3 separate regions of the Homo sapiens genome follow, and all the other regions are linked to region 2. Evidence: promoter capture Hi-C in 16 types of primary human blood cells and fetal thymus (Javierre and others, 2016). All regions are on one chromosome and are shown on one strand. The core of a region is centred on a gene start or on the middle of the fragment in contact, and the rest is flanking DNA. Distances in the headings are between cores, read along the strand shown.

What was found. Contacts are between HindIII fragments. The CHiCAGO score rates a contact against its expected background, and 5 or more counts as called.
Region 1: the fragment with the promoter of KMO here is called in contact with the fragment with the promoter of ADSS2 in region 2 in 1 of 17 cell types (activated CD4 T cells); the score reaches 5.2 in activated CD4 T cells.
Region 3: the fragment with the promoter of TFB2M here is called in contact with the fragment with the promoter of ADSS2 in region 2 in 1 of 17 cell types (fetal thymus); the score reaches 5.3 in fetal thymus.

The regions. Positions count from the first base shown.
Region 1 is chr1:241,530,750-241,533,789 of GRCh38, forward strand. It overlaps KMO (kynurenine 3-monooxygenase), which reads left to right and starts at 1,629. Exons shown (of 15, transcript NM_003679.5): 1 at 1,629-1,749. The coding sequence starts at 1,696. RefSeq lists an enhancer at 1,212-1,361. The HindIII fragment of the contact is 7,761 bases long and covers 1-3,040 here.
Region 2 is chr1:244,450,386-244,453,639 of GRCh38, forward strand. It overlaps ADSS2 (adenylosuccinate synthase 2), which reads right to left and starts at 1,524. Exons shown (of 13, transcript NM_001126.5): 1 at 1,250-1,524. The coding sequence starts at 1,432. It also overlaps a transcript of CATSPERE not described here. RefSeq lists silencers at 704-983, 1,424-1,913. The HindIII fragment of the contact is 6,677 bases long and covers 1-3,254 here.
Region 3 is chr1:246,564,853-246,568,306 of GRCh38, forward strand. TFB2M (transcription factor B2, mitochondrial) reads right to left here and starts at 1,409. Exons shown (of 8, transcript NM_022366.3): 1 at 974-1,409. The coding sequence starts at 1,286. It overlaps CNST (consortin, connexin sorting protein), which reads left to right and starts at 1,604. Exons shown (of 11, transcript NM_152609.3): 1 at 1,604-1,811. RefSeq lists enhancers at 1,099-1,378, 1,609-1,668, 1,709-2,208. The HindIII fragment of the contact is 6,532 bases long and covers 1-2,340 here.

The sequences.
Region 1 (3,040 bases), core at 379-2,878, 2.9 Mb before region 2:
GATCTTAAGAGATATAATATTGAGAAAAAGAAGCAAGTTGTAAAAAAATAAACAGTATAAGTTCATTTATAGGAAAGTTCAAAAAAGTCAACACTAAACTATTTTAGGGATGCATCTATCATGGTACAATTATACATAAAAGCAAAGAAAGTTGGTATGGCAGTTACCTCTACGAAGGAGGGGTGATTAACAGGGGGCACGTTAGACTTCTGGGATTCTGGCAATATTCTCTCTCTGCACCTAAATGGTAGTTACATGGATACTTGCTTTACAGTAACTTATTATACTGTTCATTTGTGTTATAGTTCATAATTTTTAAAAGATTTTTTAACAATGATACATATTGATACTGAGGAATTGATACATATTCTCTACATATTGATATTGAAGAATTCTCAAGCTATATGTTGTAAAGTGAGAAATATGATGTGGAAAAAGTTTTTAAATGTATGTTTAAAAAGAAAGGAAGGAAGGGAATGAGAGAGTGAGAGAAAGAGAGAGAGAAAAGGAGAGAGAGGAAGAACAAGAAAGACATAATCAACGTGTAGAAGAATACGGTAACCCACACACCAAAACAGTTGTTGTCTTTGGGCAGGAGGAATAGGTGGCCAAGGGTCAAGGTTAGCAGGATTACTATTCACCGTGTACTCTTTTGTGTCTTTAATTTCATGCCATGTTAATGTATTACCTATTCAAAATAAATAAAATACCTAATCATGCTTATCCACAAGGGGTCACTATTGAATGCCATTTAACTCTAGTTCCTAACCAGGGAAAAAAACGTTCTGAATTCTTTATGTGCTTAACAGGAAGTGAAGAAACAACTTCATTTATGTTCTTATTTTACATTACACCACATCATGTTCCAGAAAACAATTGCCATTCGCAAATCATGCACAAAAGTATAACATTTAAAACGGAGTGAAAAAGACAAAAAAGTGAATAGATAATATGAAGTCGGGAATGAGTTTACAGAAGCGTTGTGTCAGTCATCTCCCCTAGTGGTAATTAGACTCTAAATTTTCGATTCTAAAATTAGATTCTAAATTTTCTAGCATCTGGGCTGAAAAAAAAAAGGGGAAGTATGGTCAGTTACACAATTCAAAATGTTGATCGGGAGAATATTAAGACCTTGCAGAGAATTTTCCCTGGTAGAGCCTGTTAAAAACAATCCATGAGGACCCTTTAGATGAAATTTTTGATTGGTCTTAACCACAAAAATGATCCACAGATGAATTATGAAACCATGTCATCTTACTCTCTAAGGGAGGTATAAGATGTTTTTGGACTTCAGATGAGAAGGGCTCCATTCATGGTTAATCATGAATGAAAACGAAACTAAGAATATATGCTGTAGAAAAAGAAGAAGAAAAGCCACAAGACTGCTTAAAAATTTCTGTGTCTTACACAGAAGATAGAAAAAATAGAGTGTCTCCAATTGGATGGATTTTTTAAAAAATTTGGTTATTGTAATGGATTTATTTTTTCTTAGAGCTGAGCTGATTGTACTTTGGCCAACTAATGGGTTAATACTGTCAAGGGAAATTAGCCCTGACTAAACATTGCCGCTGGCTCATGAATGCACTAGGCTTGGGGCAGTATAAAAACTCAGAGAAATCAGTGTGTAGGAGACACAGAAATCAGTGTCACTCAGTGACAGAAGCAACAATAATTGTGAAAAATACTTCAGCAGTTATGGACTCATCTGTCATTCAAAGGAAAAAAGTAGCTGTCATTGGTGGTGGCTTGGTAAGAATTTTCAGATGGATTACTATTGTTGGTGGTATTATATTAACTATTATTACTCGTAATGATTATTATTCGTCACTTCTGCAAATTGTTAATTTTCTTGTGAAAACTCTGATATTTAAATACAGCTATTTTGTTTATTTTTTTAATATTTTTATTTTCATAGATTTAATATAGTATGAGTTTTAATCTGTTCTTTTTCAGGAAAGGTATTTTATAGCCATTAAATACAAAGGTTTCTGTTTTCCCTCATCATTTTGGTTTAGGATTTGTTAAAAAGCAAAAATAATGCAAATTGAATTTGATTTTATCCCCAAATTGGCTATGTTTTTAGGAACAGGAATTAGTCTCAATATTCATTTTAATAAAAACATTTGTTCCGCTTTGTTTAATAACTCAGTTAATGCTGTCTAATGAGAATAAAAGGGTCAAGAAACATGAAGCTAACGTCAAAGTATCATGTTGAATGTTCACTAGTTATATGAGTAATTGGGAATAAGATTTATGTGGTCGCCTGACTTACTTGACTCTTCCAGTGGAGCACCTAAGACAGTGGAGTGAGGTGTTCACCTCTCACTGAGCACGTGACGTAAAGGTGCTGGGGCTTCCCCCATACCTAACAAGACGGAAGGAGAGGTCACTCTCTGCTTTCATAGTTATGGTGCCAAAGGTAGTTCTGTTTAACATGGGTCTGCTCCGATTCAACTTTGCTTTTTCCCATCTCAGCAGAATTTCTGTTTCAGAATACAAACATCCCAGTTAGTCAAGGTTAAATCATTTCCCTATCACCTTTGGTCAAATCATTTGGAGACTTTTCATTAATTATTCATATATCCACTCAACAAAAAATTTATTGAGGGCGTAACACTGTTCTAGGCTGAATATAGATGGTATATTTTATGCCACACATGTATTTATACAGTATATGCTGTCTTTTGTTCTGCCTTCCTTAGTGTCTTTTCCCCAAAGTGCTAGAACAGTTCTTTTAATATTTCTGATTCTAAATTTTCATTTAGAAATGCTATCACATGATGTGTTGGTCACTGGTTGGGACATGTGTCGTCACTGCTTCATACTAGGCTTGTGTCCAATCTGTCCTATCAAAATGTTGCACAAAATGAGAATTCATGTGTTCAACAAAATCTGATTACTATGTACCAATATTGTTTTAGGTAGTAGGGATGCGAGGGTGAGAATTCCAGAGAAGAAAAAGACAAGGAAGAAGAAAACAAATAAGACAATTTCAGTTAAAGAGAAGCACTATGAAAGAAACGAAAACAGGGTAGTGCTG
Region 2 (3,254 bases), core at 274-2,773:
GGCAGGGTGGATTTCTAAATGAAAACAAAACAAAACGAAACAAGGTAAATCAGAGAATATTTGCAGTATTTGCATTTAGCTTTTTAACATACCTGTGATTTCATTGTTTCTGCATGCTCAAAATGGTATTCAAGGGGGCCTATAACTTACTAGAACATATACAGCATGGCACCATCATATCATGCCATGCATGTTCAAAAACAAATATTCTTGCAACCTAAACAGATAGCAGTTAACTTCAAATATTACATTATGCTTTGTTTTGAAAGTGGTTATTGCTCATCTGCTTAGAATTTTGAAACTGGAGAGAGTTATCTGAGAGCCTTTACAAAGGCCTTACCCTGTATGCTGCGTCAAAGGAAACGACAAATAGGAAGAAAGGTTACACTGAAAACCACGTGTCTCCCGTTAGAAGTACATTACCACCTCGTTTTCCGAAAGTTCACTTTCGATGTCACCTTAACAATGCAAATATTTATTTCCAAATACTCAATTTGACATCCATGTATTTACTTCCCTCACTTTTTTTGAACAGAGAAGGGATTCCTTCCTCTGGGACCAACTAGTAAAAGTAATTTCTCCTTAACTTTCATGTATGGAGCACACTGTAAAAACAAAAACAAAAACAAGAAACTCAGGGCCCTAAAACAACAGTCCAAAGCCCAGAGGTGGGTGGGTTTGGATGTCAACAAAGTGGACCAGAGGAAGCAAAGCACTGCATGCCACGGTCCTGCAGATGGGGGATCGGTGAGTCTGATTTCAGGACGTTTCGAAACAATCCACTCCCACTCCGCCGCCCTGGGCGGGGCGGGGGGGCGGTGATGGGGGGTTCTGCCGTCGCGCCGGGTCTCCGCCCGCAGTCGGAAGAGTTGGGAGCAGGCCTCGGGCGGTAGCTCCTCAAACTCGGACCGCATCCCACCTCCACCCCGGCCTCAGTCCCGGCGCTGAGCACCACTCGCCAGACGCAAAACTGCAACTGCCAGGCATCGCGCATCTCTCAAAGGCTCCCCGCCAGCCCACCTCTTCCTCCAGGGCCACCCCAAGTTTCACCCGACGCTCCAGGTCAGGGGTCCCCGACCTCCCGCCATTTCTCCACGTAGCCGCAGCTCAGGACAGGAGGAGAGAGCCTCAAGGTGACACCTCATTTTGGCCAGTGGATCCGGGTTCTGGGTCCGAGTTCCCGGGCACCAGGAGCCAGGCAGCCCGAGCTCCCGGGCCCGGCTTCCCATGAGAGGCCCCGTCGCCTCACCTGGCAGCGGCACACGATGTCGGCGTCCTGCGCCAGCAGGTCCACCACCTTCCCTTTGCCTTCGTCGCCCCACTGCGCACCGAGCACCACCGTCACCCGGTTTCCTCCGGGCCGCGCCCTGGGGCGGCCGCAATCGCCGTTGGGCAGGGAGGATGCCGCCGGGTAGGTCTCGGCGAACGCCATGGCTCCAGTGACGCGAGGAGAGCCCGAAGGAGAGGCGGCCGGCGAGGAGTGAGCGAACTGAACTGCTCTGCGGCCGCCAGCCACATGCAGAGGAAGAAGGAGCCAGAGGCCGGCCCCGCCCCCGCCCCGCCGGGCCGCCACCCTCCAGCCAGTCCCCGCCCCGCTCTCCGCCACAGCCCGCTCAAGGGGGTACCATGACTGCCCCGCGCAGGCCGGCCTCGGCAGCACCGCCCGCAGGAAGAGGCCCTGGTGGCGGCAACGGCCGCCACCCCGGACCGAGGCCACGCCCCTTCCGCGGCCTGGCGCGCCACTCCCGTGCAAACCTCGCGAGCGGAAAAGGTCAGGGGCGGGGCTTCGAGAGCGCTTCTCCTTCAGCACCCCGCCTACCCGCTCTACCTCTCGCTTTCAAACTGGAGAGGCGCGGAAGCGCGTGTGGAGCGTCGGACTACAAATCCCAGCATGCAACGCTCTGGGCTGCGGCGGTGTATTCTGGGGCCACTGTGTCTGCCATCTGCAGGTTTGTCTGGATTTGTCTTTATTAAGGAATGAATGTGTACAAAATACAAACTGTGGAATTTCGCAGTACAAACAGCATAAAATCGGAACGTGTAAGTGTAGAATTGGAAATTAAAAGTCCGGAAGTAACAGAGATGGGGACAGGGATCAAAAAAGACAAAATTCAAAAGTAAGGCAATAAGATAAAGGACATGAGACCTGAAATCAATAGATCAAATAAAGTCCTAATCCTCATTTTACATAGTAGTAACAAAGGCTCAGAGAGGAGGAGTGGATTACCTATGTCGCATATAGTACATATATGCAGATACCGTCATGCACTTCTTTATTTTTTAATCCCCACAACCATATAAGGTAGGTGATCCTCTATTATCCTTATTTTACAGGATTTAAAAGCTGGGTAACTTGCCCTAGTGAGGCTTGAATTGGTACTTCGATAATCTAAGTCCAGAGCCCATGTCCTTCCTGTAGATTCCACTGTCTCTCAGTTACATTTGTAACTAGATTCTGGTGTATACCTACTGTTCATCTAATGCCCTTTCGACACCAACACAAATTAACTATGATGTTTAATTCTGATAAAAGGTGCTTCGAAAAAAAGTGGGAATGGAATCACATTATATGTACCGTCTCCCAAATCGCCTGTACATACTGTATGTTCACTAATGGTCCCTAGAGTACACTTTAGTATTTTATTTCTAGTCAATGAGTTAAGTCAGGAACATTGAGAACCTGCTATTAACTAACTAAGTGTCCTGGGCACTGATAACATAGGAGAAATAAAGATACAATTCAGCCCTCAAGGATTCAAATTATTTGGTCTATTGATTAGTAAACAATTATAATACTATGTGATAATTGTTGTCTATCTTGGCCTTATTACAAGATCACAAACATTTTGGAAACAAGAATGCCATCTATTTCTTTCTAGTCAAATGCCCGAGGTAGTGTTGGGCAGATAGTAGATACTGAATAAGCACACCTTACTAGTCATTTCCATTCAATTTTTTAAAATCATTTATGGGAGACTGATTTGAGTAATAATAAAACTCTGGTTTCCTGCACAGCCAGCTCTACATGAATTACTCTTTCTCTATTGCCATTTGCCTGTCTTGATGAATTGGCTCTGTCTAGGCAGTGGACAAGGTGAACCCCTTGGGCGGTTACAAATTTGGGGGCTTGTCTGGCATTGCCTTTGTGGCTACCTACTCGTGGTTCAGTGGCCCCCCTCCAGCAATGGATCCAGAAGCCTGCCCAAGCGGCCACCCAGTTCTCTTGGACTGGGGGCTGACTCTGGTACTCTCTC
Region 3 (3,454 bases), core at 159-2,658, 2.1 Mb after region 2:
TATTTTAAGCAGAGACGGAGTTTCACCATGTTGGCCAGGCTGGTCTGGAACTCCTGACCTCAAGGGAACCACTCGCCTCGGCCTCTGAAAGTGCTGGATTACAGGCGTGAGCCACCGCACCAGGTCAAAACTTGCACTCTTCATCACCATGATTCACTACCTCTTAGAAGAAAAAAGTCACAGCAAAATAGATTGCCTCTAGCCTATCACTTCCTCACGGACTACACGGATGCTTTAACCATCAAAGAGATTGTCAAGCCTAAACAGAACTGACTCCCTGTGATATGAAATGGTGCTTTAAAAAACTATCATTCAAAAAGCCTATAAATCTTGTGTTCTTAGCATCCTGCTATGGTCTATAGGGAATGCACGGAAGAATAAGATAACATCATTTTTTCAGCTGGCAGAGGCTTGCAACTCTTTTGGGGAGATAAGATCTAAGAGCATGTTTTATCAAAATATTGTGTAAAGTGCAAGCTGCTACAGAAATACTTTGTGGTGTCATTAACGATACAGACTCTACGCTTATGTAGTGGGCAATCTCTCCAACTAAGGAGCTTCAAACAAAGACCCGTATCTGGACGGGCGCAGTGGCTCACGCCTCTAATCCCAGCATTTTGGGAGACCTAGGGGGGAGGATCACGAGGTCAAGAGATCGAGACCATCCTGGCCAACACGGCGAAATCCCGTCTCTAGTAAAAATAAGAAAATTAGCTGGGCGTGGTGGCGCGCGCCTGTAGTTCTTGCTACTCGGGAGGCTGAGGCAGGAGAATCGCCTGAACCCGGTACGCGGAGGTTGCAGGGAGCCGAGATCGCCCCACTGCACTCCAGCCTGGCAACACAGCGAGACTCCGTCTCAAAGCAAAAGAACAACAAAAAAGACCCCCCAGTATCTAAAATAGCACCCCGAGGAGGGTCAATACGTTTGAATAAATGATGAACATCCAAGAAAATGCAATTCAGCTGGACTCACCTGGATTGCACTCCAGCAGTAGGTGTGGAGGTCTACTTGGTTTTCCCAAATAGATTTGCGCCAGGGTCTCAGCCAATCTCCGATCGGTTACGTAACGCTTAAAGTCTAAGCTGGCCTTAGACGCCTTCCTTGGCGGATTCCTGAAATCCGGTTCGGGCCACAGCTGCGGAGAGGAGTCAGAGAGCCCACAGTGGTTCCTCGCCGGCAAATGCTTTCGCGTCGCCGCTTCAGACCCTAAAATGCAAAAGCGACCAGCGCCCGCCAAGGCGGAGAGCCTCAGCCGCCGAGGAAGCCCGACCACTGGGATCCACATGTCCTTGTCTCTCAGGCCCGCTCCAAGAATCACCTAGTGCAGCTACTACAGTGAACCCCACGCAGGGTATCCCACGTGGAACATTTTCTGGCGTCCGGGCCAGGTCAAGCGGAAGTAAACACTAGAGCCTGCGCATGCGAACAGCGGAGCCTTCCTGCTTTTCTCCCTCACTTCCGCTTCCGCCTCGGCTCAGCCGCCCGAGGATTGTGAGTGGACCGTTGAGGAGAGCGACCGACCATCCGGCTGGTGTCCGGACTCGTACTCTATGGTTGTCCGCGCTCTGCGCTTCCTCTCTAGCCGCCAGTGCTCTATGCTCCGCGGTCGCGGGCCGCCAGCCTCCAGCCGGCCAGCCGCGAGGGGTGCGCAGAGGGAGGCGGGGCGGAAAGGCGAGAGGTGTCTCCTCCACCGGAGCCAGGGGAGACCCGAGCAAGCTCCGTGACAGCACGTCGGCCGCCATGTCGCCGAGTGGGGCTGGAAACAGACCCGGCGCCCAGCGGTAGCCCTCCTTGCGCCTCCGATTCCCAGGTGAGGAGAGGAGGAGCGGGATGCAGGGGACCCGCCGGCTCGCGGCCGGGATGGAAAGCCTTTCGGAAGCCTCTCGCTCCTCCCCCTGCGCTGTCCTCCTCCAGCCGCGCAGCCTCTGCCCTCCGGGTGAGGTGTAGCCCGGTCCCCTTACCTCCTCCGCCTCTCAGGTCGCCTGTTTTCCTCTCCTTTCTCAGCTACTGTGGGTCTCCTATTGCTGCGCGTCGCGCCAATTTCTCCCTCCCTAGGGGACTAGCGCCAGAAGTCGTTCCTCACCCGGCTCCTGGAGGAGCCTGCGGCTTCCACGGTCTCCGTTCCTTTCTGTTGTGTGGCCCACAGCCCGCTCTCCCCACCCTCGTGGATGGTTTTCATTTCCCCCCCACACCTGGTCCCCCCCATCACTACCACTTTGGTTGTCAAGAACCGCGTGGTGTCTCCCTTCCATTCCTCTCTCTGGGCCAATATTTTCCTTAATTTTTTCAGTTTGTGTGTTTAAAAGACTTAAAGTTAAGATTAAAAATGAAGATGTAAAAGCTTACAATTCCTTTCTAAGCTTAAAAAGATTAAGACTTTAGGATGCTTACTGTATTCCTTATGTAAACTTAGTCAAACACATCGTACTGTGGAATGCGATTTAAAAGACCCAATTTTGAAGACTAAAAATAGGATGCTGTAATGGAAATTTTGGCAGTCTTTTTTTTTTTACCTATTGGGCAATGTTAGAAGACACGGTTCTTTGAGAGTGTTTTCCGTGTTTCAGGATCAAACTTAGAGCTTTTACCCATTATCCTTACCACCAAGGCAAGAAACGGCAGCCAATCAACTCCGTGTCTTAGAATACGTACAATCCTTTCTGCTTACTCTACTGAGAGTGTAATTGAGTTTGGCATTTAAATGCACGAGGAAAAGGTTCCTAAGGAATGTATCACCCAGCAAATAGTCTGAAGATTATACTCATCTGATGAAGCTCAAGCGGATAAAGAATTGACAACTAAATATGACCTTTTGTGTATTATAAATTTGTTAGGACATCATAGAAAATATCTCATCAACTGTTGTGCAAACTGTGGGGACTCACTCATTGGTCTTAATTTGCTTAAATTCTTTTTTCGTACAGTTTTCTCACTGACAATTTTCTAGAGGTGACTTTGCATCCTCTGAACCTCTCTCCATTACTGAGCTGCCTCCCCCTCTCCCCTTAAAAAACATTTTCATAGATTCAGAAATACACTTTTTTCCCCCTCCAGGACCTGGAGTCCTAAATATTTTTAAATCAGATAAAATAGAATTATGTCTTCATGGTTCACTCATAGAAATGTGTCGTTGAATTTCTGACTTTTTAAAAAAAACACTGTGGTGGCTGGGTATGGTAGTTCATGCCTGTAATCCCAGCACTTTGGGAGGCCAAGGTGGGAGGATCACTTGCTGCCGGGAGTTCGAAGCCAGACTGGGCAACATAGACTCTGTCTCCTTAAAAAAAAAGAAAGAAAGAAAAAGAGAAAAAGAAAAATAAACACATTGTGGTTAAAAACAAAACAGTTATTTTAAAATGCACTGTCTTATTTCATAATGTTTGTGGACCAAAGTTAGCCTACTGAGTCCTAGAAAAACTGATGTCATTTTTTATTTTGCTTTTGAGTGTTATT